Linked DNA regions of Homo sapiens: regions 2, 3, 4, 5, 6 and 7 are each linked to region 1. Evidence: promoter capture Hi-C in 16 types of primary human blood cells and fetal thymus (Javierre and others, 2016). All regions are on one chromosome and are shown on one strand. Each heading gives the region's core, a stretch centred on a gene start or on the middle of the fragment in contact. The rest is flanking DNA. Distances are from core to core; before and after follow the strand shown. Region 1 holds the start of BCL6 (BCL6 transcription repressor). Region 2 overlaps LPP (LIM domain containing preferred translocation partner in lipoma). Region 3 overlaps LPP (LIM domain containing preferred translocation partner in lipoma). Region 4 overlaps LPP (LIM domain containing preferred translocation partner in lipoma). Region 5 overlaps LPP (LIM domain containing preferred translocation partner in lipoma). Region 6 overlaps LPP (LIM domain containing preferred translocation partner in lipoma). Region 7 overlaps LPP (LIM domain containing preferred translocation partner in lipoma).

What was found. Contacts are between HindIII fragments. The CHiCAGO score rates a contact against its expected background, and 5 or more counts as called.
Region 2: a contact is called between a fragment that was not itself captured here and the fragment with the promoter of BCL6 in region 1, in 5 of 17 cell types (naive CD4 T cells, naive B cells, total CD4 T cells and 2 more). The highest score is 6.4, in naive CD4 T cells.
Region 3: a contact is called between a fragment that was not itself captured here and the fragment with the promoter of BCL6 in region 1, in 1 of 17 cell types (M1 macrophages). The highest score is 5.3, in M1 macrophages.
Region 4: a contact is called between a fragment that was not itself captured here and the fragment with the promoter of BCL6 in region 1, in 2 of 17 cell types (M1 macrophages and erythroblasts). The highest score is 5.6, in M1 macrophages.
Region 5: a fragment that was not itself captured here is called in contact with the fragment with the promoter of BCL6 in region 1 in 1 of 17 cell types (M2 macrophages); the score reaches 5.4 in M2 macrophages.
Region 6: a fragment that was not itself captured here is called in contact with the fragment with the promoter of BCL6 in region 1 in 1 of 17 cell types (endothelial precursors); the score reaches 5.4 in endothelial precursors.
Region 7: a contact is called between a fragment that was not itself captured here and the fragment with the promoter of BCL6 in region 1, in 7 of 17 cell types (M1 macrophages, M0 macrophages, M2 macrophages and 4 more). The highest score is 25.3, in M1 macrophages.

What each region holds. Positions count from the first base shown.
Region 1 is chr3:187,743,978-187,747,093 of GRCh38, forward strand. It overlaps BCL6 (BCL6 transcription repressor), which reads right to left and starts at 1,491. Exons shown (of 10, transcript NM_001706.5): 1 at 1,433-1,491. It overlaps BCL6-AS1 (BCL6 antisense RNA 1), which reads left to right. Exons shown (of 2, transcript NR_173091.1): 1 at 1-67; 2 at 1,267-2,049. RefSeq lists an enhancer at 604-1,129. The HindIII fragment of the contact is 3,720 bases long and covers 1-2,383 here.
Region 2 is chr3:188,725,873-188,728,988 of GRCh38, forward strand. The region is part of intron 8 of LPP (LIM domain containing preferred translocation partner in lipoma); the gene reads left to right. Among named protein-coding and RNA genes, the nearest start is that of MIR28, 39 kb to the left of the region's middle. The HindIII fragment of the contact is 2,041 bases long and covers 611-2,651 here.
Region 3 is chr3:188,696,365-188,699,480 of GRCh38, forward strand. The region is part of intron 7 of LPP (LIM domain containing preferred translocation partner in lipoma); the gene reads left to right. Among named protein-coding and RNA genes, the nearest start is that of MIR28, 9.1 kb to the left of the region's middle. The HindIII fragment of the contact is 2,080 bases long and covers 643-2,722 here.
Region 4 is chr3:188,673,192-188,676,307 of GRCh38, forward strand. All of the region lies in intron 7 of LPP (LIM domain containing preferred translocation partner in lipoma), which reads left to right. Among named protein-coding and RNA genes, the nearest start is that of MIR28, 14 kb to the right of the region's middle. The HindIII fragment of the contact is 1,331 bases long and covers 1,039-2,369 here.
Region 5 is chr3:188,655,166-188,658,281 of GRCh38, forward strand. All of the region lies in intron 7 of LPP (LIM domain containing preferred translocation partner in lipoma), which reads left to right. Among named protein-coding and RNA genes, the nearest start is that of MIR28, 32 kb to the right of the region's middle. The HindIII fragment of the contact is 364 bases long and covers 1,390-1,753 here.
Region 6 is chr3:188,529,374-188,532,489 of GRCh38, forward strand. The region is part of intron 6 of LPP (LIM domain containing preferred translocation partner in lipoma); the gene reads left to right. Among named protein-coding and RNA genes, the nearest start is that of LPP-AS1, 38 kb to the right of the region's middle. The HindIII fragment of the contact is 955 bases long and covers 1,163-2,117 here.
Region 7 is chr3:188,504,626-188,507,741 of GRCh38, forward strand. The region is part of intron 5 of LPP (LIM domain containing preferred translocation partner in lipoma); the gene reads left to right. Among named protein-coding and RNA genes, the nearest start is that of LPP-AS1, 62 kb to the right of the region's middle. The HindIII fragment of the contact is 2,246 bases long and covers 486-2,731 here.

The DNA of each region.
Region 1 (3,116 bases), core at 241-2,740:
TCTCCTCCTGAGTCTTGCACATAAGGAACGCGGGCTGGGGCTCTGTTCGTCTTTCTCCTCGCCCAAGGTAAGGACCTCGGGAATCTGAAGCCTGGCGTCCACTACGCTCAGGCCCGCAGTTCCCTTTTTACAGAGCTTGCACCATGGGAAAAAATAAAATAAAATTTAGGAAAGGGAGGCAACAGCCATTGGGAGCCAACACAGAGTCACGCAGCGCCCAAAATACAAACACCGCAGCGGCCAGAAATCCCGCCACCTTTCTCGTTCTCCCAGGCTGTCCTGTCGAGGTTCCCTGAGTCCCCCCGCACACTGAAAGGCATCGCAGGTGCAGTGCGCACCCCTTTCCCACCCACCCCAAGAAGCCCTGTCCCGCCATCAGTCTCTCTCCTCGGGATGAGCAGGGAGAGCGCGCGGAGGTTCCCGACTCCCTCGACTACAACCAAGAAAGAATAATTTTCAAAGTGTTCAACATCCCCGCCCCCAAGCTCCCCAAAACACAGGGGCAGGGAACACCAAAACACTCGGCTCTCATTAGGAAGATCACGGCTCTGAAAGGAAATAGTAGACACGATACTTCATCTCATCTGGATTTATGACCAAAAAAACAAAAACAAAAACCCAAAGAGTTCGCTTGCATTTTTTCCTTCCAAATCTCGGTTCGGCTCGAAGGCAGGGAATCTAAAAGACCGAGGCCGATGGAAGAGAGCCAGCGGGGCGAGCGAGCGGGCAGCCTCCCTTTTTGCCTCCCGGAGTTACCCAGAAGGACAGGGGAAGGGAAGGAAGAAGAGGCGAGGAAAAAGAGGAGGGAGGGAAGCGGAGGCCAGGAGCGACGGAGCAAGGAAAGCAGTTTGCAAGCGAGAAAAGAGGGAAAAAACACAGCCGCACGAATCCAGAGAGATCACAAGCCGTACGCAAGCAGCAGCAGAAAGAGCGAGAGCGCGAGCGCGCGTCCTCTCCGCGGTCTGGGGCCAGACAGCCCCCAGACTAGCCCGAATCACCCCCCAAGCACTGTCTCGTCCTCTCTGCTCCGGCCGCCCCCTAATTCCCCTCCTTCCTCTCCTCCACCTCCTTTCCAAAAACCAAAACAACACAAGGGAGGGTGGCAAAAGCCTCCCCAAACCGGCCGATTCACTCAAAGACAACAATAATAATAATAAATACATAACAATCTATATCCTATGGTGGGAGAGACGTGGGACTAATCTTCGGCATTTATTTTAACACCTGACAGCTAGAATAAATAAATATATACATTTATATCAATAGATACACATAGAAAACTTGGAGCCAAAGCATTTGGCAAGAGCGGAAAAAAAAAGAATTAAAAGGTAAAATAATGATCATGAGCAGCGGCGGCGGCAGCGGCACCAGCGGCAACAGCGGCGGCGGCGGCAGTAGCAGCAGCAGCGGCGGCAGCAACAGCAATAATCACCTGGTGTCCGGCCTTTCCTAGAAACTTCTTGCATCACCACTTCTAAGAACCCCAGTTCTAAGAATCAACAGAGCTCAATTCTCGGAATTTGAGCTTCGGACTTTACCACTGCTACGTGGCAGGGGAGGACTTGGTGTCAGCTCTCCGAGATTTTTACTGCCCCTGGCCAACCAAAAGCCCTCAAAGCCACAAGATTTTTTCACTGGCCGGCATATTTCGAGGTCCTCATAAGCAGAGCGTCTCGGATTTGGAGGTTCCGGTTCGAGGCTCGAGGGGCCTGAAGGTGGCTCTCCCTCCCCGGGCCCAAGACGATGGTATGGCCTGCTCCGCCACCATCACGTGGGCTCCTCCTCTGTGACGTCGGCGCCTTCGCTGTAGCAAAGCTCGGCCTCTGGAATTCTGAGAACTAATTTGCTATTCGGTGACATAAGAGGGGGAGTGCGCTTTGCTTTCCCGGGGTCTGGGGCTAATTCCTTCTTTCTTACCCATAAACTCAGCAGATCGAGCTAAATGCACAAAAGGGAGCGAGAGGTTTGAACCACTGGGAAAAGTATGTTATATATATAGTAGGGTTAGAGAGGCGAGTAAGAGAAAAATAAAATAAAATAAACATCACAGCTCTTTCCAACTAGAATATTAGGCACCACGAGAAAAATATTTGCCAAGCAGTTTTCGGTGGGTTCATTTGCTTTATTTTTATTTAGGACAGGGGTTTTTGCTGTTGTTCTGGGTTTTTTTCTTTCTGGTGTGGTGGCTTGGGATTTTTGGTTTCTGTATTTTGATGGTTTATGGATTTTTGCTTCTGATTTTTTGCCTTTTGCAAGTTTGTGGTGTTACGTAAATCACAGGATCGGCATCGGTTGGATTTTTTTGTACGTGCCTTTTCTTTCCCTATCTAATCCCTCAAGCGTTTTAAAGATGTATTATTTCAATACTAATACTATTGAAAGAAGCTTAAATTTTTGGCCATATGTAACAATCCCAGCCCCCACTTTTTTTTTTTTTTTTTCCTTTGGTGCAATTTTCTTTTTCCCCCTTGGACTTTTGCTGAAGTGTGTCTCTCCTGCACTTCAGAGAAATGTTCAAAGGATTTGTTTTGGTTTGGTTTGTTTCTTTCCAGGACAGCAAGTGGTGGGTTTAATCTGTTATTGTTGACTCTTGGGAAATTTCTTGTTGCAAGAAACGTGTGTGTGGGGGGGAGGGTGGGGGTGGCGGGGTGGTATGTGTGTGTTTTCTACAAAATTCTGTGAGCCAAATACCTGTTTGTGTTTTGTTTTCTCTTAAGGTCTTGAGATTTTTGTTTTCGAGGCTCGTTTCAAGGTCGTTGTAAAAAAATCTCTTCAGTCTGTGTTTAAGAGATCAGCCGGAGGGAATTCTAAAGGCCTGCCGTGCCAGTATCACAGATACTGCCTGTATTTAGAACAGACTGCCACAACTACAATGCACTACACGCAGCACAGTCTTCTTAGCTTTGAAGCTGAGTTGGGGGGTGGGGTGGGGGGGGGGTAGAGAAGAAGGAGAAATTCTTTCCTTCTCTTTTTCTCTATTACTTTCTTTTTAAAGGCAATTGCAGTGCAGAATCATTTCATTGTGGGTCCTAGTTTGTTTGTTCAGAGCTGCTAGTTTCCTTATTTAAATGTTGGTTCGGGTTTTTTCCCCTCCTACTCATCCCTGAATAAGGGAG
Region 2 (3,116 bases), core at 381-2,880, 980 kb after region 1:
TTTTTCAGGTAAGCCATGAATTCAAGGGCATTTCAGACAAACAATTCAATAGGGACAAAGGTATAGAGACCAACACCAAAAAAAGTGCAATATGACTGCCAAAGAATATTGGAAGGAGAAATGAGACTAAATGAATGATTAGTGGCCAGATCAAGAGGGCCTCTTATTTCTTACTAAAGAATCTAGAGTCTGTCCTGAAAGTGTGGAAACTCCATGAAGGGTTTCAACAAGGGAACCACAAGATATTGATTAAAGATCACTCTGGGTACTATTGTGGGGAGAGGTGTTCAATGGGACAAGATTTGGGGGATGAAGATCAGTCTGGGTGTCATTTGTACTTGTCTAAGGGGAATAAGGGCTGGAACCAAGATAGTCATCTTGTGACAATTTAGAGAAGGGTTTCAAAGGGGCGTAAGAGGGATGGGCTGAGACTTATTCCTGGGCCTCTATCTTGGGTGGGTAATGACATCACTAAGTGATGTGAGAAAAAGAGAAGGAGTTCAGTAATGGTGATGCCATCAGTCCACAGAGATCCTCTCTTTATCAATACTTATTGAGCACTTGCTGTGTGTACACACTGTTCTAAGCATTGGTGCTACAGCAGATGAAAAGCTTCTTTTATGGGGCTTACATTCCAGTGAGAAGAAAATGATGACACATAAATAAAATACATAGCAGGTCAGATAGCAGTATATCCTATTGAGAAAATTATGCAGGAGAAAGGGATAGTGAGTGATACAGTGGTATTGGAGTGGAAGTATTATGGTGAATAGTGTGACCGCTATAATTGTGAGGTCTCTATTATGGGTGAAATCTGGTCTGCCTAATTTTGTTTCTTTTCCATTTTTTGTTTGTTTGATGAATTATTATTTCTCGTAAACAAGGCAAATAAACAGCAATAGCAACATAAACATTTACAAGCACATAGATGTAGGCATAATAGTTTGTGTTGCCAACATAACACATGCCAGGAAAAACAAAAGAAAACAGCAGCTAAAAAAAGTAAATATCAAAAAAGGGAGCTTTCTCAGACACAAATTCTTATCATTCAAAATGCTGTGTAGTTTGAATTAGAAAGTCACAGAATGGGACCTTAGATTTAATCCAAATCTCTTAGTTTAGGCAGAAAAACCTTCAGCCGAGCAAGGAAGTCAGTTATTCAAGGACACACAGGTAGGTCTACAATTTAGGTGCTCTAACTTCATGTCTAAGGATCTTACCCTTATCACCATCCCAGAAAAGCCCAAAGTAGCTTGGGTCTGAATTTCCACTTTGCCACAGTAACCTTGAGCAAGTTTTGCTTCTCTTTGCAACAGTTTGCTCATTTGCAAGGTAGGGATGATTATAAAAGTGTCTGTGATAGGGGGTTTTGGAGGATTAAATAAGTTAATAATACATGCAAATTACTTACAGATGTGGGCTGACACACAGTTAATGTTCAGCAGTACTGAGAGTATTGAAACGTTATGATACAGGCTACTTAGGTTTTGTGTATTTGAACATAAACTTCAGACCAATTTCTGGTGATGACCACGGGTAAGATATTCTGTGTTTTAGTTAAGATGATTTCCAGTTAAGATGTTGAAATATTAAATACTTTTCTTGGGTCACTGAATAATTATAAAATATATTAAAATAACTTTGATATTTATTTCATTCATAGAAGTTCTAGACAATCCAGTCTAGAGAAGAGTTATGTAAAATTCTACACCAGAAATAGAACCCTAACCTTGAAAGACAGGGACACTTATTCATATATGTATGTCTAACACAAATGGGCCTCATAATTGTTGACAGCCACTTATTGAGCATTGACCATGTGCCAAGCAGCATGCTGAACACTTCACATAGCTGGTCTTACTTAATGCTCACAACAGGTAAGCATTCATATCCGGATTTTTCAGATGAGAAAATTGAGTCTTAGGCAGTTCAGTACCTTGTCCAAGGTTATACGGATATCAAGAGCCTAGATCTTCATAAGCCAAGTCTCTGTTCTTTTTGCTCAGCAAATACCTATTTTTAATGAGGATGCTTTTCTCAACTAGCTACTATATTCTGCAACCAGTCTGCATTTTACACTGCTATCCTTTCTGTGTCATTCCTAATACTCATTCATAGAATTATAAGATCATAGATTGTTAAGGCTGGAGGAAACCTGAGGAGTTTCTTGGTTCTCAGCATAAAGACTCAGAATCACCTGGGGGAGCTTTATCACATTCAAAACTACACACCCACACACATCTACCTTGTATTTACAATGAAACTCTGATCTACTGACATAACCCTAGATCCACTGAGAAAATATTATTACTCGGAGAAAATTTAGCTGATGGAGTGTGCCATACCCCACGTGTGATGAGATAACAAAAAAAGTTGACAATTACTGATCTAGTCCAATCTTACATCACAAACATGAAAACAGAATGAAGAGTGACAATCACTTTCTAAAGATTTTTAAAATGTCACTTATAACTATCTGCAAAAGAACCTGCGTCTTTTGACTTATAATGTTAAGTGATTTTCTTGTTTATTCCTTAAAACTGCCTTTGTAGAATGCACTATGTTATTTGATGGTTCTGGAGTAATACAAAAGAAGAGAGTGATTAATTTGCCTGGGATCCTACAACAAACCAGTTGACCAAGAGATAATAAGCTTATTATATTATGCAGATCTATACCTATTCACTTCGTTTAGTTAAGAAACAGCTCATCAATATGGAATACACATTTTCATAGTAGATTTGTGGGTTGCATAGCTTTTTTGTGTCTGTTTTCAATTTCTGTTCCTTTGATAACTGAACAAATAACAGAGATGGTGAAACCCAGCAAGCAAATTATCTTCCAGATTTTATGTGATCTCCCTTCTCTAGTGAGTTGGTATGTCTACTAATGACACAGTAGATTATAAGGTTATTTGGTTTAAGTAAATATTTATGCAGAGCCTATGATATGTCCATCTCTGTCTTAGGTGGGGTGAATTAGAATTACTATAAGTGCTTTCTGAAAAAAAAAAAAATGTACCATGAACAAATTTAGAGGTCTCTGCCCCCAAGAAGTCCATAGACCATTATAGGTTAGAGAATAAAAAATATATGATAATCCCTTTTCCCATGTGA
Region 3 (3,116 bases), core at 433-2,932, 950 kb after region 1:
GCTCATGCCTGTAATCCCAGCACTTTGGGATGCCGAGGCGGGCAGATCACTTGAGGTCAGGAGTTAGAGACCAGCCTGGGCAACACGGTGAAACCCTGTCTCTACTCAAAATACAAAAATTAGACAGAGAAATTGCTTGAACCTGGGAGGCATAGGATGCAATGAGCTGAGATTATGCCACTGCTCTCCAGCCTGGGCAACAGAGAGAGAATCCGTCTAAAACAACAACAACAACTCACAAAGTAAATTCTATTTACCCCATTTTATTTTTGAAATAACTAATAGGTAGTAAAATTCAGCATCCTGCACTGGATCATACAATTGGTAAGCTGTGGATGTGGGATTTGAACCCAAGTAAGCAGACCCTAGAACCTATATATCTAAGGCATACTGATTACTATCAACGTTCAATTTTTTGCTTTGTTCTTTTATTTCTCCTTCATATACCTTGATTTCCTGACTGGATTATAAATTCTATGAACTGGTTGCATCTCACTCATTTTGATGACTGCTTTAATGCCTAATTAATTACTATTATTTGTGGATAATTTAATATAGATTTCATAGGAGGCTATAGTTTGCTACACTGCTCGTGTACTCTAGAAACAAGGACCCTTGACTTTTTTCTCTTCTTTGGCTATAAGCTTATCTTCTTACCATGTTGAGATACTTTGATTTGATTTTCACTGGTCAAGCAAAAAAACATGTTCTTGTTATTTTCACTTAGGCACTTTGTCTGCCTCCCTGCTGAGGCCCAAAAATTCAGTGTGATCGGTGTGTCTGTCAGAAGGTAGGATTGCTTGCCTAGGGTGGCATTGTTATTGAACAAAACACATGCCCTTTCTTTGCATCCTAAGTGTCTTGGATTGCTGAGCCAGAACCGCTCTGACTCAAATGAAAACCACCTTGTGTTAGGTGAAAGATGGGGAGTTAACCATTTGTTTGCTGGTTTGCATTTCCCACGAAAAACTCAAAAACAGAAATTTACCTCGCCATGGAAAGTGATGTGCCAAGCGTCATATTTGCATATTAAAACCGAAAACTGATTTGCATGTTATTTCAGTGTCTTGTGTCACGTTCAGGCATCTGTCAAGCCCACTAGACAGAAACAGCTTGTACAGTAGGAAAGTGTTTTTATGCATATCAGACTGAAAATCTAGGTGCCTTATTTTTATCAGCAACTTGTCCACACTTTGGGCTCTCCAATCTCTCCTAGGTTCATACCTGAAAATACTAAAGAAAAGTCTGGAACCCCATGTTTTATAAAGTATGTTTCCTGTTATTTTCTAAGAGCTATCCATTTTTATAATATTCTGTTTAGATAATTTTAAAATTATAAAGAGAAAAACTCAAATTAATCATAATATCACAATCCTGACATAAGTCTTGTTAACATTTGGATATATTCACTTCTAGTAGCTGTTTGATAATACTTACATAGGCTAACATATACTGGCCCTTTTGCATATATATTTTTATACATTTGTAATTATCAGATGTACTATTTTCATATCTTCTTATTTTTTGGCACTATAATGGCAAGAATTATGACAATCCAAGTATCTAAAATAACAGATTAATAAAATCTTATTTTGAGCAGACAGGAAATTAGAACCAGTCAGGGCTGGAGCCGTGGCAACCGAAACTCTGTGCCGTCTTTTTGATAGTGCTTTATTAAAACTGTAGCTTGTAATTGAGGATAGTTTTTCTATGGGACAATGCATAGAAAGCTGTGCATGGTGATAAAACCTTTTTTTCCCGACATTAGAGCAACTAGCCCATTGCATTCTTCCAGGCAACCAAATGAAGATGAAACGTGTGCCTGGAGTCACTGCCAGGCATGTGGGGCACAGCAAAGGCCAAAATATGGTTTTAGTTTGAAAACCCAACCTTGAATAATGGTTCATTCTATTCATCAAACTTTTAGGTCATGGGTCTTGCCTAGGTGAAGCCATCCAATGGAAATAATGTCTTGGAATTCTCTTGCCTTTATTATGTCAAATCTCTAATATATAACATCCATAAAGCCTAATTAATGGGAAAAACTGAGTGTATGTTTTAGCCATAACATTGTGGAAATAGGTTCTTTTAGTTTCACACAAATAGAGATCTTCTCACCCCACCGAGAAAACTCGCTTTCTCCTTTACGGAGGGCCCGCATGGAGGTTTAGAGGGAAGGAACCCTGAAATGAGAACTGTGAATAAGGTTGGCAGGAGATCTTTGACCTAGATTCTCCTCGACTCTGAGGATTTGGCGCTTCTGCTCTGCGACTCGCTTTTCTTACTTCTTGCCTACCCGGCAGGATAACATCAGTGGTTGTACCTTGTCTGCCGAAGCCTAAGGGAGGCTGCTCTGCTCTAAATAGCCAAGCATGAGCTTTACTTTACTATTTGTCTTTTGGTCCTAAAGGCGAGACTGTACAAGAATTAATAGTTGGAGAGGCAGCAAGGCATACGTTCACCAAATGGCATGAATTTCAAGATTTGTAGCTAAAAAGTACTCAGAGTAATTACATCCCTTGCTAAAGCAACAATTAATGTGAAATTCGGGTACACTACACTGAAGTCCTTTATCAGCAGATGGAAAAGTGGAGAGTTACTGGAGAGATCTCATTCTGCAAACATTCTGCTTCCAAGAAGAAAATCATCTTTGTTAGTGGTTTCTAAGTTGTCCCTCTTGATAATTATAACTGACATCTATTTGATATTTAATATGTTACAAAGCTTCTTCATATGAATCAGATATTATTATTCTCCAGTTTATATATGAGAAAATCAACAATAGAAAAAGAAATCACTGGAGAACTTAAGTAGTATCTTAGACATCAGGCCTAAGAGCCAGATGCTCCAAGCCCAGGCACTATTATAGCTGCCTTGACACGTGGAGACGGAGAGAGGTGGGTGTGGAGAGACCTCACTTTCCCCCAGCTCAGCCTAGATAAAACCCTTGTGTGCAGAGACCAGGGCCCCCTGACTGGATGCCCAGGCCTTTTCCCAGCTGCAGTAACTCTTCCAACAACTCCTCCTGTCTGTAATTCAGAATCATCCATCCTTGGCTATGACTCCAAATTTGGTTTAAGAAAAGGCATTTTATGGGCATCGATGCATGGCATGAG
Region 4 (3,116 bases), core at 454-2,953, 930 kb after region 1:
TGTGAGCTGGGCAGATTCATAATAGAGAAGTACCGTTTTTTTGTTTGTTTGTTTGTTTTTAACTCTGAGGGCCCTGTGAGCTTGGTCAATTTACATCATCTCATGAATGACATAGGGCCCTATATGTGGAAACAAATAACAACAACAACAAACCACTGTAGAGTCATATCAAAGAAAAATGAAGGTGGTATTCATCCACATCAATATTAAGATAAATTATTAAATATTTATAAAACTCTTTGACAGTGTACAGCCTCTATAATTAATCAATGTAGCACTTTCTCAATACTTCCCCATTTTAATTAGTACCAACATCAATCATAATTAGGCTCATGCTTTGGTCTCTCTGAGACTTTTAAAACATTATGGGTAGGGGGCATTTTTCAGGATTCAGGTATCAGCTAAGAGTTCATTTAGCCAGTAGATCGTGACCATTCTTCCTCTCCCTGAAGCTATGATTCTGGATACTGTGGCTCTTCCTGCTCCTCCAGACATAGAGAAAATGGACAAGTTTCTCCTTCCCCATTTTGAGTGCATGATGTGAAAACTTAGCTTGTCCAGCCAAACTGGAGGAAGGAGAGGCGGGACTTATTGGAGTAACTGAAAAGAGAAAAATTGGAATATGAGCAGTACCAATACTCAGTCTCTTAAGGAAGGGTAGAGTCCCTTTCTTTCTGTCTCTGTAATTTTTTTCTTTTTTGTTTTTTTTTTTTTCAAAGAAGATTGCATAAGATTCTGTCTCTCTAGGAGATGACTGATGAAATATACCCCCTGGGTCATTTGCATCTTACTCCTTTGTAGTGTAGGGAAGAACATTCCAAACCCATTATAAGCACTTACTGTTGTTGGGCATGTCATAACAAACACAATACCTTTCTGGAATATACTGCTGAGCCCTTGGCTTTTTGCTGAATTTGCCTAAAAGCCCTTCTGCCTATTGAGTGGCCACATTCTGAACTAGTTATACTTGGTTAAGTTTTCACACAGTACACTCTGGGATACTAGGGTTGCAACAATTTAAAAAAGAACATAGATGGAAGCTTTATATCTCAAAAGCTCCTACCTTTGACTTCCCTGACAATTTTTCCTTCTCCTGCTCTTCAACTCTATGTTTCCCAACTTTGTTTTTGTAAACACGAAAAGTAAATTTTTTACCATTTTGTGCCTAATTCCTCTTCTTTCTCTCTTCTCTTTTTACTCATCACAGGAATGTCTTAGCTTTCCTTCCTTCTCCAATCTGCCTTGGGTATAGAGTCACGCCTTTAAATCTTTTAGCATACCACAATGTAACTTACATAAGGAAATGTTTAATTTGGGAACCTCAATTGGTTTTGTTAACACTGCTGCACCGAAGCTCTAGCTGAATTCACATAATCTCATGATTTTAGTAAAGGTAACAAAGGAAAACGATTATGTAAGTACCTACTTTTCAACAAACATTGGGCTGGGTTTCTTCTTTACATTTTCTCATTTAATCTTCATAATAACCCTGCTAGATAAGGTTTACCATCTCATTTTGCAATGTGGAATCTGGAGCCCAGAGATATTAAATACCTTGTACGAGAGTAGGTGTGCAAAGCTAAACTTTGAACCTAGGCATCTCTGACTTCAAAGTCTATGCTTTTTCCACCTCATAGAAAGACCATCCAGAAGATCAAGTGTTGGAACCTTCCGAGGCTGTGACATATTTATTACTTCAAAGTTTATTATCACAGGACATGCATGCTGCTTTAGCAACTAGAAGTGTGTGAATGAATATTACTATTGTGTTGCATAAGTCCTTGGCAATATTACTTTTTAGGTGCCATTCTAATCCTGCCCTGTTTGGAATAATTGTGATTACGAGGGCATAGGAGTAATTCAGAAATTTTTTGAAGAAATTTCTCCCACAGCATTAGCCTTAGTTATGAGTATAATACAAAAGAAGAGGACCAGCCCTGCTGGAAGGTAAATGAAAAGATGGAGGAATTGAACGATTACATAACAGCTGTTCAGACTTGTGGTACTGATTAGAGTCATTTGTAGAGATGAAGCAGTGTGTCAAGCCAGTGTGGGCTAGGGTATACTGGGAAGTTCTCACAGACAGAATGAAGTGGGTTGCGGCAAGCCCTGAGGTATGGCAAAATCTGGACAGCTAGCCTGGATCTTCATTTTTCATTAGTTGGCTTCCTTAACTGCTCAACAAGTAGACCAAACAAACAAACCACGCATACACACAAAGCAAAGAAGTAAATAAAGAATGGTGGGGCTAAGACTGTGAATAGCTCCTAGCAAATTAGAGAAATAGCTTCAAGTATATGCCTTCTGGATGATGTATGTTTGTATATGAAGGACAACACATCAAGGGGTGTTGGTAGTAATCTGTGCTAAGCTTAGAAGCCAGTATATCATTGTTCTAGTTCTATTTCTACTGTCGAGTGGCTTTATAGCCTTAGACAAGTCATGTAACCGTTCAGGCCCCAAATGTCCTTCTGGAATTACAGGGATTGAACTGGATGAATAAAAAGTTCTATTTCAACTCCAACATTTAATAATTCTAAAGTTCTTAGTGAGCTCTGATTGCTCATTTGCATTACATAGGCATATATTAACCATTTTAATATGTATCAGAAAAGGTATGTTCTTTTTCCTCAGAAATGTTGAAGCCTGACTTTGTTATAGAAAGCACCCAGGAATCATGTCTTCAGAGTTCCTAATTTTTAGTGTTTTCTTGTACTGCCCCGACTGCTGCAATCCTCTCTCTTACATTGGAATTCTGTTTTAAGTTTTGGTGATTGGAATCCTCTTTTTGATTTAAGAGAAAGAATCCTAGGGGTGAAAGATTACTATACTGGAAATGAAAGATTACTAGTCTCTAAATGAGAATTGGCTTTGGTCTGTAATAGATAAAAAGATTTTTAAGGGAAAAATATTAGAAAAGTGAAAACGTTTTTAAAAAAAATAGGTAGCAGTCACCACCGTATTCTGGTGGAATCGAATTCTTGAAGATTAGATTTGTGTATTCATGGAATAATCTAGACAAAATCCTGCCTTGCACATAGTGGGGAGATACACTAAAATACTGAAACAGCTACATTGTATTCAGGTGAAGCTACATAGATGTAAATAAAGGGCAG
Region 5 (3,116 bases), core at 322-2,821, 910 kb after region 1:
TAGCCTTAACTGATCTGCTTCCATGTTCTAGTCACTTGAACATTGATATGCATGTAAAATAGGCCCCTGTTCTTCCATTAACTAGAAAATAAAAAAGTGCCCAGAAGGGAAGTTTCCATTTCTAGCAGCACGTTAAAAAGTGCCAGAGTTTGATCAGGAAGTGGTATCAGGGTCAAGATGAGGGAAAGGACATCAGAAAAAAAAGTAGAATTATCCTGTTCACTTCAAGGAAGACACACAGCATAAGGCGGGTTTTAGAAAAGGATTAAGAGAAAATTGGCAGACAGAATTAGGGAGATTGCTTAATCAATATCACAATATAACGATGCTGGGTAGAAGATGCATGGAAGAAGCATGGATTATCTCAATGACGATTTTATTTTGAAGATAGTGTGATTATCACCCCTGGGGATGCTGGAACATTACACTGGGGATTTAGTCACCAACTGAAGCAGATCTCTGGGTTGAATAGATCACCATGAAGGTTGTTTCCAACCTTAAGTTTTCTTAAATTTCAGAAGTTCAATGAGTTCTTCTCCAAGGATCAAGGAGGATATCTACTAGAAATCTACTATAGAATAGAGAGAATTGGTCTATACACAAGTTTATTTAAATTAAATAATCCTGATACCATTTTGAACTTTTCAGTCAAAACCTACCATATGCAGCTCTTACCAGTGACTTCAGTGCTTCCTTATACAAGGTGCAAGCGGTGCTAATCTCACATTAAAAAAACACTTTGGGCCAGTTGCGGTGGCTCACAACTGTAATCCCAGCACTTTGGGAGGCCAAGGTGGGTGGATTACCTGAGGTCAGGAGTTTGAGACCAGCCTGACCAACACGGTGAAACCCCGTCTCTACTAATAATACAAAAAAAATAGCCAGGCATGGTGGTGCATGCCTGTAATCCCAGCTACTCAGGAGGCTGAGACAGGAGAATTGCTTGAACCCAGGAGGTGGAGGTTGCAGTGAGCCGAGGTCACGCCATTCCACTCCAGCCTGGGCAACAATAGCGAAACTCAGTCTCCAAAAGGAAAAAAAAAAAAAAAAAACACTTTGATTTTAGAAAGAAGGTCTGTGCCCAGGCGCTCCCAGGTGCTGCCAGGCCTCAGAGGAAGGGTTCTGAAGACAAACCTGACTGCCTCCTTCCACATGCTATGTCTGCAAATATTGGCTGCCTTCAAGCTCACAGCCTGTGACAGCAAGTTGGTTTCATTTCTTAAAGTTGATCTTCAAAGCCGTGAAGCAATCGCAAACTGTTTGAGATCCCAAATCAAAGAACAGATTGTGTAGACTCAAAAAAAGCAAACAAACAATTACATTTAAAAACAAAGTGTTGGAAAAAACCAGCAACAACCTTTCTGCTCACCTGCCAAGGCCTTGTGGCTAAGCTTCTGTTTTTGCCAAATTGTAGCAAATCACATCAGACAGTGTCCTTCTTGTACTACTGACAGGTGACCCATTTCCTGGTGGTTAAATCTGGAGGGATTTGGGAGTTCTTGCTCTTAACATGACTTTCCCACTGACTGGATTTGTGATTGTAAGCACATCACACTCATTTCCTCCATTTGAAATGCAGGTTCTCTGAAGCCTTCTGGCTTGAAGGAATAATAGTGAGTAATACCTAACATTGGCATTGCACAGCATGCCACTGAGGGCTGCCCAATAGCTCTGTGAAAGAGATGAGGAAACAGGATTAGAGAAGGGACCAGCTCACAGTCACAGGACTAGTAAATTATGAAGTGAGAATTCAAGCTTTCCAATATCCCTTGTTCTTCCTACTACATGATACCACTTCTAGCTAACCACTCATTCAGTAGCTCTTGAAAAGGATATTCTGTTACCTCCTTTGAAGATAATATTTGATCCCTACTTTCTCACAGGGCTTTCCAAATAGAGTCCACATTGGCCCATTTCCATGGAACATTTTGCTGGTCTTTAGGTATTTTATTAATTGCTGAATTGTTTAGGGGTTTTAAGTTGTCTAAGGAGACTATATCTGAATTCAATTATTTTTTTCCTCTTTCCCCTCGAGCATGCACATTCTTTGTAATACTGTAGTGATGTATAAGTTTTCAAGAGCTGTCAAGGTGTATATATATATATATATATATATTTCCAAAAGCAGATAGTATAGTACATTTACTACAGTTGTTTCACTTTGATATGGATAAAAAATGTATAAAAAAGGCAAAGAATTCTGTGAGTGTCATTACAACTTTAATTTCAAAATTTTTGCCCTTATGTTATTTGCTATACTTGGCTTTCCTCGACATTATAAATCATTGATCACAGGCTGGTATAAATTTAGCATTACCAGTGGATTCTGCGTATTTGATATGCTCTTTTTATTTTGGTTTTGTCAGTTTGCTACTCGTGAGTTTATCTTTGAACAGCTTCCCATGGCTATGGGATTAGGTCTGTACTCCAGAGCCTGATATCTATGGGCCTTTTTTTCTTAGCCTTTCTAGTCTTTTTACCCCATATTTCTTCATGATATCCATAGTTTGTCCAACCTAAACAAAGAGCTAGTCCCCAAGCACACTAACCCGTTACATTCATCCCTCTGCTTTTAATACAATTGTTTCTCTATAGAGAATACCTTTAAAAATATATATAAGTTGGCTAAGCTCAAAAACACCACTTCTATGATAATACTCTTACAGATTCTTCCATTTGTAAATATGCATGCTCATAGTACTCTTACAGCGTTGGTCCTCTCTTATAACATTGTTAGAGTAGATACTGTAAACTGAAAAGTGACACATAAAAATACATAATGGTGCAGCTCAGATATGTGTCATCTTAATATTCCTATTAACCTTAGAACTTTGTGACTGTGTTGGGATTACTTGACATATTTGTTTATCAATCAACACAGTGACAGTGACAACGAATGAGTAACCAGTGTTTTGTTTTTGAAACATTTGAAGAAGTGTTCCATATTTCTGAAGTTATTAGTTTAGTTTAGGTTAGTTTAGTTTAGTTTAGTTTTAACGACAGAGTCTTGCTCTGTTGCCCAGGCTGGAGTGCAACAGCGTGATCTCAGCTCACTGCAACCTCTGCCTCCCAGGTTCAAGCAATTCTCCCTGCCTCAGCCTCCCAAGTAGCTGGGA
Region 6 (3,116 bases), core at 390-2,889, 790 kb after region 1:
AGGCTAGTAGGTCTGTGATTTCTCATTAGTCAAACATGTGTTGTAAGCTTTTTTGAATCCATGTCTCTATCATCTTTGGAAGGCTGCTTTGACTCATGGTCTAGGAAAAATGATATATATGTGGAATGTTTATATGGTAAGAGGTTCCAAGGAGCTCCATTCTCAAAACAAGTCTGAAAAATGTGAGCTCTTGAAAATAGGTTTTGCTAAAGCATTTTCTTCCTTTTATTCTAGGGAGTATTTTCCGCTCCCAAATTTTCTGACTTTAGTTATGTTCACTTACTAATCCCTATATTGATTTTGGAAATTTGGCTTAATTCCACATATTCATTGATTCATTGATTCATTCACCTAACATTTGATGAGATCCTCCTCTGGATCAGTCATTGGAGATTTAAAGGTTAGTATCAACAGGTCTTTCCTTTAGAGTGATATTTAATCTTACAGAAGAGATAAGCCCGTAAGTAACCCAAAGGGACACAGGAGAAGGGCTTCAATGTGCTACTTAAATTGTCACGTAAATCACCACGTGTCAAAATTATTGGGAGATAAAATACAGGAATACCAACATTGTACCTTATACCTTTCAGTGTCAGAGAGGACTGCGTAGAGCAGGCAGTATTTGAGCTAACTTGGCTTAAAGTGTTACGGGAAGGGCATGGGATTCAAGGTGCAAGAATAACAAGAGTGAGAAAGTCAAGGAACGTGGAAAGTGAATATTATTTGAAGAATAAGTTTGTCTAATGGGGTATGTAAAGTGTAAATGGGATTACTGCTGAAAAACTCAAACTTACTTAGCAGTACCTAAGTAGCCCTTTTGATGCCCAAGGGCTTTCATTGTTAGAAAGAGAAATTTACAGGGGGATAGCAACAGTGTTACTGGCTGCAGTGATTTTGGAGTAATGACTTTAGCTTACAGCTACTTTATAAAAAAATCCTCCATGACGCTGCATGGATTTATGCAATTAAATTACATTAGTGTTTGAAACCAAAATTTCTAAACATTTTAAATGTGTTTGTCAGGGAGTAGTTTTAGAAGAACAGATGTGAAAAGTTCAGAGGTGATCCTGGAGTGAATTGCAGACAAAATGTGATCATAGAATATCAGAGCTTTAGTGGGCCTTCCAGCTCACTTAGCCAAACTCTTATTCTACAGATGGAAAGCTTTTGCCCAGAGAGGGAAAGAACACACTCAAGGAGGCTCATTTAGAGACAGTTTCAGTGATTCTTTGTATTTTCCCCGAACTATGACACAAAGGCCCAGCTTGATGATAACCACGACCAGGGGAGAGTTTGGTTTCCTTTAGTATCACAATTGGTTTATTCCAAAAAGTCTTTCTTTTATGGCGTCTTCTTTAAAATAAGTCTCAAACACATAACAAAGAATTAGGCATATCAAAGACGTACTTCAATGGTAAACAGAAAACTTATGACGTTGTAACATCTTTAAGCTAGTATATATCTAAACCCAACCCATTAGGTAGGCATGATTTGTTAGTATAAGTACAGCTTAGCCTCTAGAAGCTATGCAGGGGTTGGAACGAAATTCTGTCTATTTCTTAGAAGACAAGAGATCAATCATGAACTAATGACTTTTGTGTTCCTTCTTTTATCAGAGTTAGGGTACAGTATTCATCTTCTAGTTTCTAGTACAGGGCTGTCTTTTTTTCCCCAAGTAAGTTTGGTAGGATTGGAGCTGATGACTGAGTGACTTGGAACACTTTTCAAATAAACTGTCTTACGTTAATATTTCATGGTAGCTGGAGATTTAGTAATTTGTGAATCAAGTTGCTTTTGAATTGATTAAATGGGCTTTCACTATCCTCATTTAGACTAGTGTGATACTGTGAAATAATAAGAAATAATATATAAATATATTTTTCTACTCCAGTTTCTGAATCAGTGTTTGTAAATCCTTATAATTTCCTAGGTGATAGGGGTGCTGGTAGCATCTTTTGTTCTAACATTATTTTGTTATTGACCTTGGTTCCTGACTCAGAGCTACTGAATTCTGTGGAATTTCCTGAGTGATGGAAATATCTATTGTTTTGATGAGGCAACTCTTGGTGGGCTCCTGGATTTTGGCTGGTTACCAGAATGACCAAGCAATGATTTGAAGCTTGGAAGTTTAATCTTCACCTCTCATCCTCTGGGGATGAGAAAGGGGCTAGAGATTGAATGAATAACAAATCATGCCTATGTTTTGAATGTTTTGAAGTCTGTATAAAAATCCCTGAAGTGCAGAGAGGTTTCAGGTTGTTAAGCACATCTTTATGCCAGGAGGGTGGCATACCCCAACTCTATGGTAACAGAAGCTCCTATACCCAGGACCCTTTTGGATCTAGCCCTGTGCACTTCATCATCTGCCTGTCCATCTTTATCCTTTATCGTATCCTCTATAATAAACTAGTAAATGTAAGTAAGCATTTCCCTGAGTTTCATGAGTAATTCTAGCATATTATCAAACTTGGGAAGGGGATAATGGCAAACCCCAATTTGTAGTCAAATCAGACAGAAGTCTGGGTAACTGGTGACCACCCCTACTCTGCCCCACCACCGCAGCTTGTGATTGACATATGAAGTGGAAACAGTCTTGTGGGACTTGAACCCTTAACCTGTGGGATCTGTAATAGTAACTCCAGGTAGATTGTGTCAGAACTGAATTGAGTCATAAAACACCCATCTGATACCATAGAATCAGTTGATGTATGAAAAAAACCCTCACATTTAGTGCCAGAAGTAAAGTGTTCTGTCCAGGCATGGTATCTCACACCTGGAATCCCAGCACTTTGGGAGGCTGAGGCAGGTTGATTGCTTGAGGTCAGGAGTTTGAGACCAGCCTGGTAAACATGGCGAAACCCCAGCTCTACTAAAAACAAACAAACAAACAAACAAACAAAACTTAGCTGGGGGTGGTGGCATGCACCTGTAGTCCCAGCAACTCGAGAGGCTGAGGCAGGAGAATTGCTTGAACCTAGGAGACAGAGGTTGCAGTGAGCCGAGATTGTGCCACTGCACTCCAGCCTGGGCAACAGAGCAAAACTCTGTCTCAATCAATCAATCAATCAATCAATCAATAGAAGTGAAGTGTTCTGTGAGTAGCATAGAGGAAAGAG
Region 7 (3,116 bases), core at 359-2,858, 760 kb after region 1:
TCTGTGCTAAGTATTAGCTTTTTTTGTTAACTTGTGGTCTTAAGTATTTTCTGAGCCTGCATGTTTCCCTGGTTATGTGCCATGACTTTCTCATTTCCTCTGTTGTTTTCAAATGCCCTGGTTATCAAGGTCTGTCTCCCAAAATGAGAAAAAGTAAAAAATAAAGGAAGAAAAAAAAAAAAAGGACTGGCCTTTTGAGTCCCATGGAAGTCACTTCAGCTGGAGTGAGAGGGGCAACACTAATGATAGTTGCCCCTTTTTCTTTATGTGTGTGATTAAAAGCAGCAATTAATGTTCAGTCCACAGATCCTTGATATATGGAAGACAGGTCCTTTTTGCCCAGCTTGGATCATGTAAGCTGTATGCAAGCTGCTTCAAGTACATGTGCACAGATGCCTGCCAAGGATCTAAGAGGTGGGGTATAGGTAGTTGCTATTGTGCTGAGATGTAAACTTTACCTAAATTAACCACAACTTACCATCTAAAGCTTCCCTCCAGAAAGTAGACTCCTTTAATAGACTCTGGACTTCCAAAATAAGTTGTTGATATAGATGGTGGCAGTGCAATCGTTGTCTAGGTGGAAAGACAGATTTGTGGTGCCTCCTGCTTTGCCATATTCTCAGAATCCCTTTCACTTCCTTCGATTTTTACTAAGCAGAACTAACTTCCTTAATTCCTCTGCCATGCCTGCAACTATTCCTTTTCTCCCTTCTTTACCACCCCCTCCTCCTTTCTCCCTGTCTCTAAATTTAGGTTCCCACTCAGAGTTCTCACTTTGACCTTCCGTTTTCTCTCAGTAGATGTCACTACTCTAATAAGATCAACTTTGATCTTTCTTTATCTAATTATTTGAACTGCTTGTGACTTGGTACTGTGTTTTCCTTTGACAAGTTTTGTTTCATTTATCCATGAGATCTTTTCATAGATAACACCTGCCTTTTCACTTTCAATGTATCCCTAATTCTACTCATCATCTTACTCAAAGGCTTACATTCTGTTAGACATACCATTATATTTTCTAGTCTTGCCAACTAAATCGTGTTCATTGATGATATATCTTGCTTTCTTTGTATATCTATCACCAAGGCTTACAGGATTATTTCAATCTCTTTATTTTCTTGCCCATCATCCTAGTTCATATCTTCTGGGTTACAACCTACTCATTGCCTTCATTCTATCTTTTTCACATTCCAACTGCATATCTGTAACCACTTAGTGGTTTAAAAAATATTATTTTCTTCCTTTGGCTTTTCCACATTAAATTTCTCCTCTTGGTTTATTTTTCAGAGTACTCTATGACCTACCTCATCCTATGTAGCACACTGTATCTCCCACTGTCCTTTTTATACAGTCCTTGCTCTTTTGAAGCTCATATCGTCATTGTCAGCTTCATATGCCAAGCCAATTTTTCTTGTGTCTTTCTCAATACCTGATGAACCCTCATATCCTCATTTTTAGAAGCCTAACTCTACTATTTTACTCATACGTGTCTGACAACTGGATCATCTTGATCTCTCTCTTCTCTGCATCCTCAGTCTTTTGATTGAGTCATGTGATGTGGTGGCATGAGCCCAGGGTTTAGGGCTAAGAAACCCTGCTCTGTTGCTTATCACTGCATTTCCCATCTTTACATGCAAAAATGAGGATATTAATAACAATTTTTAGAAGGTTATTTTGAGGACTAATTAAGATAATGTAGAGTATCCAACAACTGCTGGTTCAGAGTAAAGGCTACTATGAGTCAGTTAATAAATAGATTTATTAATGCTGTTTGATTTTTTCTGCCACTTAATATATACCCTTTTGTGGGGTAATGTAATCATTGCATGTACATTAATCTTGCCACCAAACTTTATTTTATAAGCCAGAATCATAAAATAACATGGGAGACTTGTAGAAATTATTTAAAATCACAAATCGTAGAGCACCAGATTTGACATGGTCCTAACCCCTCTGCCCTTTCTTGTGATGAGGAAACTGGAGCCTAAATTTCTTAAGTGAACTGTTCATGGTGACACAGTTACTAGGAGAGCTGGTCCTAACCACAACTAGAGATTTCTGGACTCCCAGGCCTCTGCTCTTTCCATTACCTTCTTGTTCATTTATTTTAGCAATTGCCTGAAGGCAGGATCACAACCCATATTTCTGTATCACCCATAACCTTTATTTTCATTTCATTTTATTTTTTTTGAGATGGAGTCTTGCTCTGTTGCCCAGGCTGGAGTGCAGTGGCGCAATCTCGGCTCACTGCAAGCTCCGCCTCCCGGGTTCACGCCATTCTCCTGCCTCAGCCTCCCAAGTAGCTGGGACTACAGGCGCCCACCACCACACCTGGCTAATTTTTTGTATTTTTAGTAGAGACGGGGTTTCACTGTGTTAGTCAGGATGGTCTTGATCTCCTGGCCTCGTGGTCCACCTACCTCGGCCTCCCAAAGTGCTGGGATTACAGGCATGAGCCACCACGCCCGGCCCATAACCTTTATTTTATTGCGAGAAGATAGAATAGCTACTTGATTGATATTTGTGGCTTGATTGATCTATTCTTTCTTCGACTGTGCAATAGGAATTCTCTGGGAAAGGACTATGAAGTCTGTATACTTATCACCCTTTTGATGCTTTTGGGGTTGTTGTAAGCATGCAAAGGGTTCATTGTGCACTGCTTCTGTATACTGACTCAGGGTGGTGGGGAGAGGAAATGGGAGAGGAAGTTATATACATCTTGAGCAAATCAAGCTTTTCTATTTTTAGTCCTTGCTACTGTTTGGAAAGTACAGCCTCTGTTCATGGCAGTCTGGCATGTGTTTCCTTAGTGCCATTTCGAAAGGGGGAAAAAATAAATATGGGAATTTTTTTTTTTTGTAGTGAAAATAGTTACTCAGTGAAATCACATAAGTTTCCCGTTTTTCTCTTGATGAAACCTCAAACCCACTAGGCACAGATTCCTCAACCTCAACTATGCATGTGAAAGGCTCATGCAGAACAGGAGACCAGAGTCAGCAAAACCTTGTATAGCAAGATAAGCTGTGGTGCCCCAGAGAAGCGCGGATGGGTGGCGGAGGTGGGGAAGGCAGGGAAGGGAATGGTGATGTTCTTTCATATTTAGTGGGGAACTTGGC